3 separate regions of the Homo sapiens genome follow, and all the other regions are linked to region 2. Evidence: promoter capture Hi-C in 16 types of primary human blood cells and fetal thymus (Javierre and others, 2016). All regions are on one chromosome and are shown on one strand. The core of a region is centred on a gene start or on the middle of the fragment in contact, and the rest is flanking DNA. Distances in the headings are between cores, read along the strand shown.

Region 1 (2,835 bases), core at 65-2,564, 480 kb after region 2:
ACAGGTGGACGTCACCAGCTCCAGCTAATTTTTGTATTTTTTGTGGAGATGGGGTATCACCATGTTGCCCAGGCTTACCAACTCCAGAACTCAAGCGATTTATTTATTTATTATTATTATTATGTTTTTTTTTTGAGACAGTCTCACTCCCTTACCCAAGCTGGAGTGCAGTGGTGCAATCTCGGCTCACTGCAACCTCCGCCTCCCTGGTGCATTCAATTCTCATGCCTCAGCCTCCTAAGCAGCTGAGATGACAGGCGCGCACCACCATGCCCAGCTAATTTTTGTATTTTTAGTAGAGACGGGCTTTTGCCAAGTTGTCCAGCCTGGTCTCGAACTCCACACCTCAAGCGATTCGCCCGCCTTGACCTCCCAAATTGCTAGGATTACAGGTGTAATCCTTTCCTAAAGAAAAAGAGTCATCTCTCCTGAAGAATAAGAAAAGGTAAAATTAATCTAGATACTTAGCATTTTCAAGTTATTTTCCCTGATTATAGATATAGTTCGCGCTCTTTATACAAATGCTGAAAATGCAGAAAAATGTCATAGGAATCAATGTATGTTTTGGGAGGGTTTTTTTGTTTTAAAGATTTGTTTTCACCTATGGCTGAAACTTTTGAAAGCTTATATAAATGAAAGCTTATTTTTCTACTGTAGGATGGAATAGTAAAAAGAGCACTAGACTATAGTGGTCAGAAGACCCCAAATCTGGTTCTGGCTCTGCTATTTAACTTTCTAATGTTGGTCAAATCAATACTAATGTTTGTTTTAGTACTTTACGTTGATTTCACACAGATTTTCTTATTGGCATTCAGTAGAGCAGGTATTGATCATCATCGTTATCTTACAGATGAGGAAGCTGAAATAACCTTAGGTAAAATGATTTTTCCTAGGTTATATAGTAGAAAGTGGCAGCACTTGTGACACCAAATCCTGTCCTCTTGCCACTATTACATTGCCTTTTTGAACTTAAAAAAGATGTATAAAATGGGCCTAATCTTTCCCTTTCCTTGTGGGTTGATGTGTGAGGATTGAAGGTGATACATATATAAAAGCACCTTAAAAGTTATAAATTTTATATAAATATAGTCAGGAGTATTAGTATAGAAGGTACTACTGCTGGCCTGACGAGTTTCATTTTATTTCGTAAACTGCCCAAGGGTATTAATTTTCTCTAGAGAAACCATTGAATATTCTGATGCTCTAACTTCTGATTTTTTTTCCTTTACTACTTTGACCTGGTTGTAGAATCTGGTAGAAATGTCTTCTACCACTCTGTTTTGTTCCCCCAGAGTTTCTAACCAAACTGCATGCAGCCCTTCGTAGTTTTTATACACATTTTGTTTTCCAAAGATGGTGTTCGAGACCAAGGAGAGAAAGGCTGTCTCCTTGACTTAAAGGTTACCTAAGTGACCCCTTGAGGTAGGTTCCACTCTGAGCCAGCTGGGGAATGTTGATTTGAGGTTACAGCACTCTTGATCTGATAATAGGGTCTAAATTTGCTCTAGAGACTTTGTAGTGCTTAAATCTTGGGGATAGCTGAGCTGAACCAGATGCAAGCTCTGCCCTCAGGGTGAGAAGTTTCTGCACAATTAACTGGAATCCAAAACACGTGAAAAAGGAGCTTCACCAGTGAGGGTGAAGTGGGTATGCTGTTTGTCTTAATTTATGTGTGCTCCCCATTTGGGCTAAATATGGTGTTATTAGGGAGGGATTACTGGTTTATACTGGAAGAAGATTATGTATTTAGGATTTTGGGGCCTTCTTAGGATTCAGTATCTGTCAAACGTTATAGAGAGGGAGATGAAGTAGTGTCAACGTTTGGTACAAAAAATAATTTACTGAAGGCAGTAGGCATTTCATCTCCAGTTACTGGTTTGGTTTTGAGGCAGCCCCCTGGAGGAGATGGATTCAGTATTAGCTAATCCAGGGATTTGGGTCCAAGTTAAGGGAGAGGCGGGGACATCTAGGGTGTCCACCTGGGAAGATCAAAGCTTGGTCCTAGTTGAATGAAACAATTCCTTGGATGGTTCCGAAACTGAACTGACCTACCTCCTGGGAGTGGCAGGGAAAGCATCAAGCTTTTGCGCATTTACTTCATCAAATCCTTTACCATATCAGATTATCACTTAGTGGCTATTAGGCTGTCTCAAAATGTCCATGGCCCTGTGGGACAAGAGAGATAGTATAAATGTGCTAGAAGAAAGGTATGCCATTTAAACAAAAGTACAGACGGGCCCCAATTTATGATGATTGGACTTAATGATTTTTTACTTTATAATGATGCAAAAGTGCTACCTGTTTGCTAGAAACTGTACTTCAGGCCAGGCATGGTGGCTCATGCCTGTAATCCCAGCACTTTGGGAGGCCGAGGTGGGCAGATCACTTGAGGTCAGGAGTTTGAGACCAGCCTGGCCAACATGGCAAAACCCTGTATCTACTTAAAATACAAAAATTAGCTGGGCATGGTGGCACACACCTGTAATCCCAGCTACTTGGGAGGCTGAGGCATGATAATCACTTGAACCCAGGAGGCAGAGGTTGCAGTGAGCTGAGATCGTGCCACTGCACTCCAGCCTGGGCAACAGAGCGAGACTCTGTCTCAAAAAAAAAAACCCAGCACATTTAGAATTTCCATCTTTTCCCAGACTAGGGATATCTGGTATGATATTTTCACATGAGATATTTAACACTTTATTATAAAGTAGGCTTTGCGTTAGATAGTTTTGCCCAACTTCAGACTAATGTAAGCGTTCTGGGCACATTTAAGGTAAGGTAGGCTAGGCTTAAGCTATAATGTTTGGTAGGTTATATGTAGTAAGTGCATAAATTACG
Region 2 (2,700 bases), core at 168-2,667:
CTCTGTATCTCCCAGAGATGGTCAAGGAATTCATGAGCTAAGATAACATGATAGAGTTGCAGAGAAACAAAAACAACAGAAATAAAAGGCGCTTCTGAGAAACCTTGGCAGAGATGGTCAGAGAGGCACATTTAGTATGACGCAGTACAAGTTAGTGTTGAAGGGTTTAATTCCTCGGAGCTCTACTTTCCTCATCTGTAAACTAGGGATAATAATTCATAGAGTTTGTCATATGGATGAAATGTGATCATGTGATATGAAAAGCCAACTACTCGGCCAGGCGCGGTGGCTCACGCCTGTATTCCCAGCACTTTGGGAGGCCGAGGCGGGCGGATCACGAGGTCAAGAGATCGAGACCATCCTAGCTAACACTGTGAAACCCCGTCTCTACTAAAAATACAAAAATTTAGCCAGGTGTGGTGGCACGCGCCTGTAGTCTCGGCTACTCAGGAGGCTGAGGCAGGAGAATCGCTTGAACCCGGGAGGCAGAGGTTGCAGTGAGCTGAGATCGCGCCACTGCACTCCAGCCTGGGTGACAGAACGAGACTCCGTCTCAAAAAAAAAAAAAAAGCCAACTACTCTGCATAGTTAGCAATCAAAAAATGTAAGCTATTCATTATCCTAATGAACTGAAAAAACTGCTTTTGCGCCTATCGGGAGGAGACTGTTAGAAGCCAAAGGCTCATTTAAAGAGGACGTAAGGAAAAGCAACCAAAAAGGTGGGAATAGAGTTTAAGGCGCGTTCGTGGTGATTCAGACCTAGAGTGGGGAGCAAGCCCTCTCTCTGGACAGCCCTCAGCGGCGAGGGGAGCGGGCGCCCGCGGGCCCAGCCGGGGTGCCCGGCAGCCAGGACTCCGAGGCGGAACCCGCAGCCTGGTCCCGGCGTCGGCGCCTCCCCGGCGGCGTAGGGAGCGCAGCCGCGGGGACCGGGGGCGAGGCCGGGGCGGTGCAGTAAGGGCTTCCCTCCTGGGCGCGGTCGCCCTCTTACCTGGAGCTTCCCCTCGCTGGGGTTTTGCCCACCTGACGCCCCCGCACCCACCGGGGACGGGGCAGACGTCCGGCCTGCTCCCTCCTCCCAGTGGACACCTCTGTCCCTGTCCCGGCCCATTCTCCAGCCCCAGAGCCCTTCCTGCCCTTCCTCCCCTTCCTCCCCTTCCTCCCCTTCCTCCCCTTCCTCCCCTTCCTCCCCTTCCTCCCCTTCCTCCTCTTCCTGCTCCTGGCTCCTTCCGACGAGTTTGGTTTGAACTTTTGAATCCGCCAATCAGCGCCGCGCGCCCCCACTCCGCGGGTGCGGCCGGGCGCAGGCCAGGGCTCGAAGGTGGGGCCGCAGCGGCACGGGGCGGGGTCTGGGGCCCGCCCTCCCGACACGTGGCCGGGGACCGGGTATATAAGGCCCTTCGGGGCCGGCCACCCTTTCACTACTTCTCCCCCGGACTCCTTGGTAGTCTGTTAGTGGGAGATCCTTGTTGCCGTCCCTTCGCCTCCTTCACCGCCGCAGACCCCTTCAAGTTCTAGTCATGGTGAGTGGGGTTCCCTCGGGGCTGGGGAAGAGTGCGCGTCCCAGGGGACGGCGGGCCCGGAAACTACTGCCTGCACCTCGGGCCGCGCCCAGGACAGCTCCAGACTACCCCGGGCCCCTCCGGTTAACCTGGCTTGTGGCGGCCGGGCTGGAAGGTCGAGTTCACTTGGCAGACACCAGTTCGGGCCGGAAAACCTGGCCCGGGTGCGGCCATCAGTGGAAATGGAAAGCCCTCTTGATCCTAGTGAGGGCTTTCCCCGCAGGGCCCGCTACTGCCCTAGGGAGGAAGGTCAGGGAGCCTGCTCATTGGCCTCCAAGAACTTAAACTAAAAATCCCTCCCCACGTTTTCTCAAGCGACCTCTCCTTCCTACTGCCTTACAAACTGGGCCCCGGAGGCCCTCGTGCGCTCCCGCACCGACGGTGCAGCACTTCCTGGCTCCCCCTCTCCAGCGCCCAGTGACTCGCTGCTGAGTCACCTGTGGCCCTGCCCTGGGGAGAGCTTCCAACTGCGCCAGTCCACTTGAGAATGGAGGCAGGCACCTCCTTGGAAGGGAATAATTAACTTTCACGTTGCCTAATCCTGCATTTCTGGTGTTAATCTAGTGGTAGGTTTATAGCTGAAGCTTTCTACTTAAGCCGGGTTTAAAAACACGTCCACAAAAGGATATTTTCTTATAAAACCAGAGTTGGCCCGGCGCAGTGGCTCACGCCTGTAATCCCAGCACTTGTTCGAGACAAACCTGGCGAACATGGTGAAACCCCGTCTCTACTTTAAAAAAAAAAAAAAACAAAAAAAAACGCTGGGCGTGGTGGCGCGCGCCGGTAATCCCAGCTACTCGGGAGGCTGAGGCAGGAAAATCGCTTGAACCCAGGAGGCGTAGGTTTCCCTGAGCCGAGATCGCGCTACTGCACTCCAGTCTGGACGACAGAGCGAAACTGTCTCAAAAAAACGCAAACCCGGCCCGGCGCGGTGGCTCACGCCTGTAATCCCAGCACTTTGGGAGGCTGAGGCTGGTGGATCACGAGATCAGGAAATCGAGACCATCCTGGCTAACACGGTGAAACCCCGTCTCTACTAAAAAAAAAAAAAAAAAAATTAGCTGGGCGTGGTGGCAGGCGCTTGTAGTCTCAGCTACTCGGGAGGCTGAGGCAGGAGAATGGCGTGAACCCGGGAGGCGGA
Region 3 (2,756 bases), core at 247-2,746, 400 kb before region 2:
GGAAGTAAAAGGTGTGTGTGTGTGTGTGTGTGTGTGTGTGTGTGCGCGCGCGCGCGTGTGTGTGCATGTGTGTACGCGTGCATGTTGGGTGGTAGGGAATGGAAATGGAGAAGTCCTGTTTTACTGCCCACCCCCAGGACTATTCATGGGTCCCTTCACCTCACCATCCCAGCCCTCTAAAGGGTGGAACCAGACCCAGGGAAGAGAGTGGCTCCTGGGGTTCACCCACTCTGCACCCTTGGACCATGCAACTGAGTCCACCAACTGTCAGCCCTCCCCACAACTAATGAGTCTTCAGATCCTCTTTTTTCACTTCTCCCCACCAAAGGGGAAAACAATTTCTAAAAGACAGCAGCTACACAGCAGACCAGTAGGGGTGGGAAAGGGGTATTTGGAGCAGAATTCTTACCTGAGGTATCCCAGAGACTAAGCTCCACCCTCTGTTCCTCTGTCTCCAAACAGGCTGTGTAATTTTCGAACACGGTGGGCACATAGGTCTGTGAAAAGAGAGGAAACATTCACCCCATGCACCCCTACCCTCAGATCCCCTGGTTAGTGCTGGCTACACACGCACTCACCAGAGAGACAGTAAAGTCACAGGAGACAAGAAACCAGAGGAGATGCCTGGGGCAGGAGGGAAGGGACTGTGGAGGACCAGGCACTTTGCTCTGCAGCAGTGAGAAATGTGAATGACACCCCCCCACACCACCACACCAGGGGTAAGCCCCCCATATCCTAGGCGATCAGGGACACACACACACACAGATTCCTCCCATCCCCAGATTTGTGTTTCCCAATTTGAGAGAGCCACAGGCCAAAGCCAATCCTAGCTCATCTCCTCTCAAACCCCTCCCGGCCAGGTGAACAGAGGGGCTGCAGAAGCCTGCCTGAAGGCACAGGCATAGAGCCTTTGAGGAGCAGGTGAGCGGATAGGCAGGGATTACGTCAAGAAGAAACCCCAGACTTTCAAATGCCTCCAGTGCCCTCACCTGAGAGCAGACTCCAGGGACGCAGGAAGGTGGAGGGGATCTGATGGGTCCTCTGGGTGAAGAGGTGAGGAGGAGCCAGCGGGGCGGCAGAAGTGGAACAGGTCTCAGGGGAAGCTAAGGCAGGGCAGTCCTCCAGCCAAAAAGCAGCTGAGGATGGTAAAGCCTCAGAAAGCGGCTGAGGATGGGCTGGGGCTGGGGGAGCCACGTCTCCTGAGCAGGTGGAAATCTACCCCAAGGCGGGCAGGCAGGGAGAAAAGCCGGCCAGCGGGCGGGCGGGCAGCTCACCTCTGGATAGCAATCCTTCGCTAACACTTGCAACATCGCGGTCTTCCCACACTGCACGTCCCCGACCAGAACGAGCTTACATCTGGCCACGACTGGCTGGGGGGCCCGTCTCTCCTTCATGGTTGCAGTGTCCGCGGGACTTGAACTTCGATTCAGAAGGGAGGGTTGCGCCAGGTGCGTCTCAGCACGCCAATCAAGCCAGATTCCCTGCCTCCCTCCAACTGAGGAGGAGGCCGGCACAGCCGCCTTTTATTTTTCTGGCTGAGCCAATCACAAGAGGAGGCGGACTCTGTTACGCCCAATCCCTGAGGTGGGATTCCCTCCAGCAGCCAATGGATCTGAGGATCTGAGTCAGCGCCCCCTTCCTCCCTTCTCTTTCTCTTAAAGCTGCACCGTTGTTTCCCCCTGAAAGGGGATTCCCAGGTTGTTTTGCATTTGTATTAGGAAGTGGAAAGGGTACTGGAAGCAAAATGAAATGATCTGGAGTGTCTACCAATAAGTGTCAGAAAAACAAACTAGCTATGGAAGCAGGAAGTGAGGTCAGGCTGGAGTTGCAGGGACTGTCCCGGGTGGGTTACAAAAGCAGGACCTGCTTAGACTATAGACAGGTGTGTGTGTGTGTGTGTGTTTTGGAGGAGTAGGGGATGGGGGAGGTGGCCCAGAACTTCTCTGACATTTTTTTTCTTTTTTTTCCTTACATCTTTTGTTTTAAATAGAGACAGGGGTCTCACCATGTTATCCAGGCTGGTCTTGAACTTCTGGGCTCAAGCAATCCGCCTGTCTCAGCCTCCCAAAGTGCTGGGACTACAGACATGAGCCACAGCGCCTGGCCTGATGTCTGACTTTTTTGTTTTTTCTAATTCCCATCCAAACCAGTTCTTACTTCCCTTTATTTCCCCTCCCAATATCAGCTCCTGCTGTACCTCTTTTATTTATTTATTTATTTATTTATTTATTTATTTATTTATTTATTTATTTATTTTGAGATGGAGTTTCGCTCTTGTTGCCCAGGCTGGAGTGCAATGGCACGATCTCAGCTCACTGCAACCTCCATCTCCCGGATTCAAGCGATTCTCCTGCCTCAGCCTCCCGAGTAGCTGGGATTACAGGCATGCACCACCATGCCCAGCTAATGTTGTATTTTTAGTAGAGACGGGGTTTCTCCATGTTGGTCAGGCTGGTCTCGAACTCCCGACCTCAGGCGATCCGCCCGCCTTGGCCTCCCAAAGTGCTGGGATTATAGGCGTCAGCCACCGTGCCCGGCCTGTGCCCCTTTTAAAGCCTTCTCTTCTTCAAGAATCACCTTCACCACCAAAGACAGAGAGAGAGAAAGAGAAAGAGAAAACTTTCTAGAGTCATCCATAAAAAAAACACACAGCACCTGACCCAGTGATGGGCAGAGAGAAATGAGGGACTCTGGCAAGTGGGGGTGGGAGAGAGGAAGAAGACAAAGCAAACACAGTCACTGTTTGGCCAGACAGC

Evidence for each region. Contacts are between HindIII fragments. The CHiCAGO score rates a contact against its expected background, and 5 or more counts as called.
Region 1: a fragment that was not itself captured here is called in contact with the fragment with the promoter of TUBA1C in region 2 in 2 of 17 cell types (total CD8 T cells and fetal thymus); the score reaches 6.5 in total CD8 T cells.
Region 3: the fragment with the promoter of RND1 here is called in contact with the fragment with the promoter of TUBA1C in region 2 in 1 of 17 cell types (non-activated CD4 T cells); the score reaches 7.4 in non-activated CD4 T cells.

The regions. Positions count from the first base shown.
Region 1 is chr12:49,743,121-49,745,955 of GRCh38, forward strand. The region is part of intron 1 of TMBIM6 (transmembrane BAX inhibitor motif containing 6); the gene reads left to right. Among named protein-coding and RNA genes, the nearest start is that of TMBIM6, 3.0 kb to the left of the region's middle. The HindIII fragment of the contact is 1,355 bases long and covers 638-1,992 here.
Region 2 is chr12:49,263,665-49,266,364 of GRCh38, forward strand. It overlaps TUBA1C (tubulin alpha 1c), which reads left to right and starts at 1,418. Exons shown (of 4, transcript NM_032704.5): 1 at 1,418-1,520. The coding sequence starts at 1,518. RefSeq lists silencers at 740-1,179, 1,220-1,479, 1,834-2,047 and an enhancer at 1,610-1,769. The HindIII fragment of the contact is 8,287 bases long and covers 1-2,141 here.
Region 3 is chr12:48,864,374-48,867,129 of GRCh38, forward strand. RND1 (Rho family GTPase 1) reads right to left here and starts at 1,497. Exons shown (of 5, transcript NM_014470.4): 1 at 1,275-1,497; 2 at 410-497. The coding sequence starts at 1,394. RefSeq lists enhancers at 1,311-1,430, 1,691-1,820. The HindIII fragment of the contact is 16,374 bases long and covers 1-2,756 here.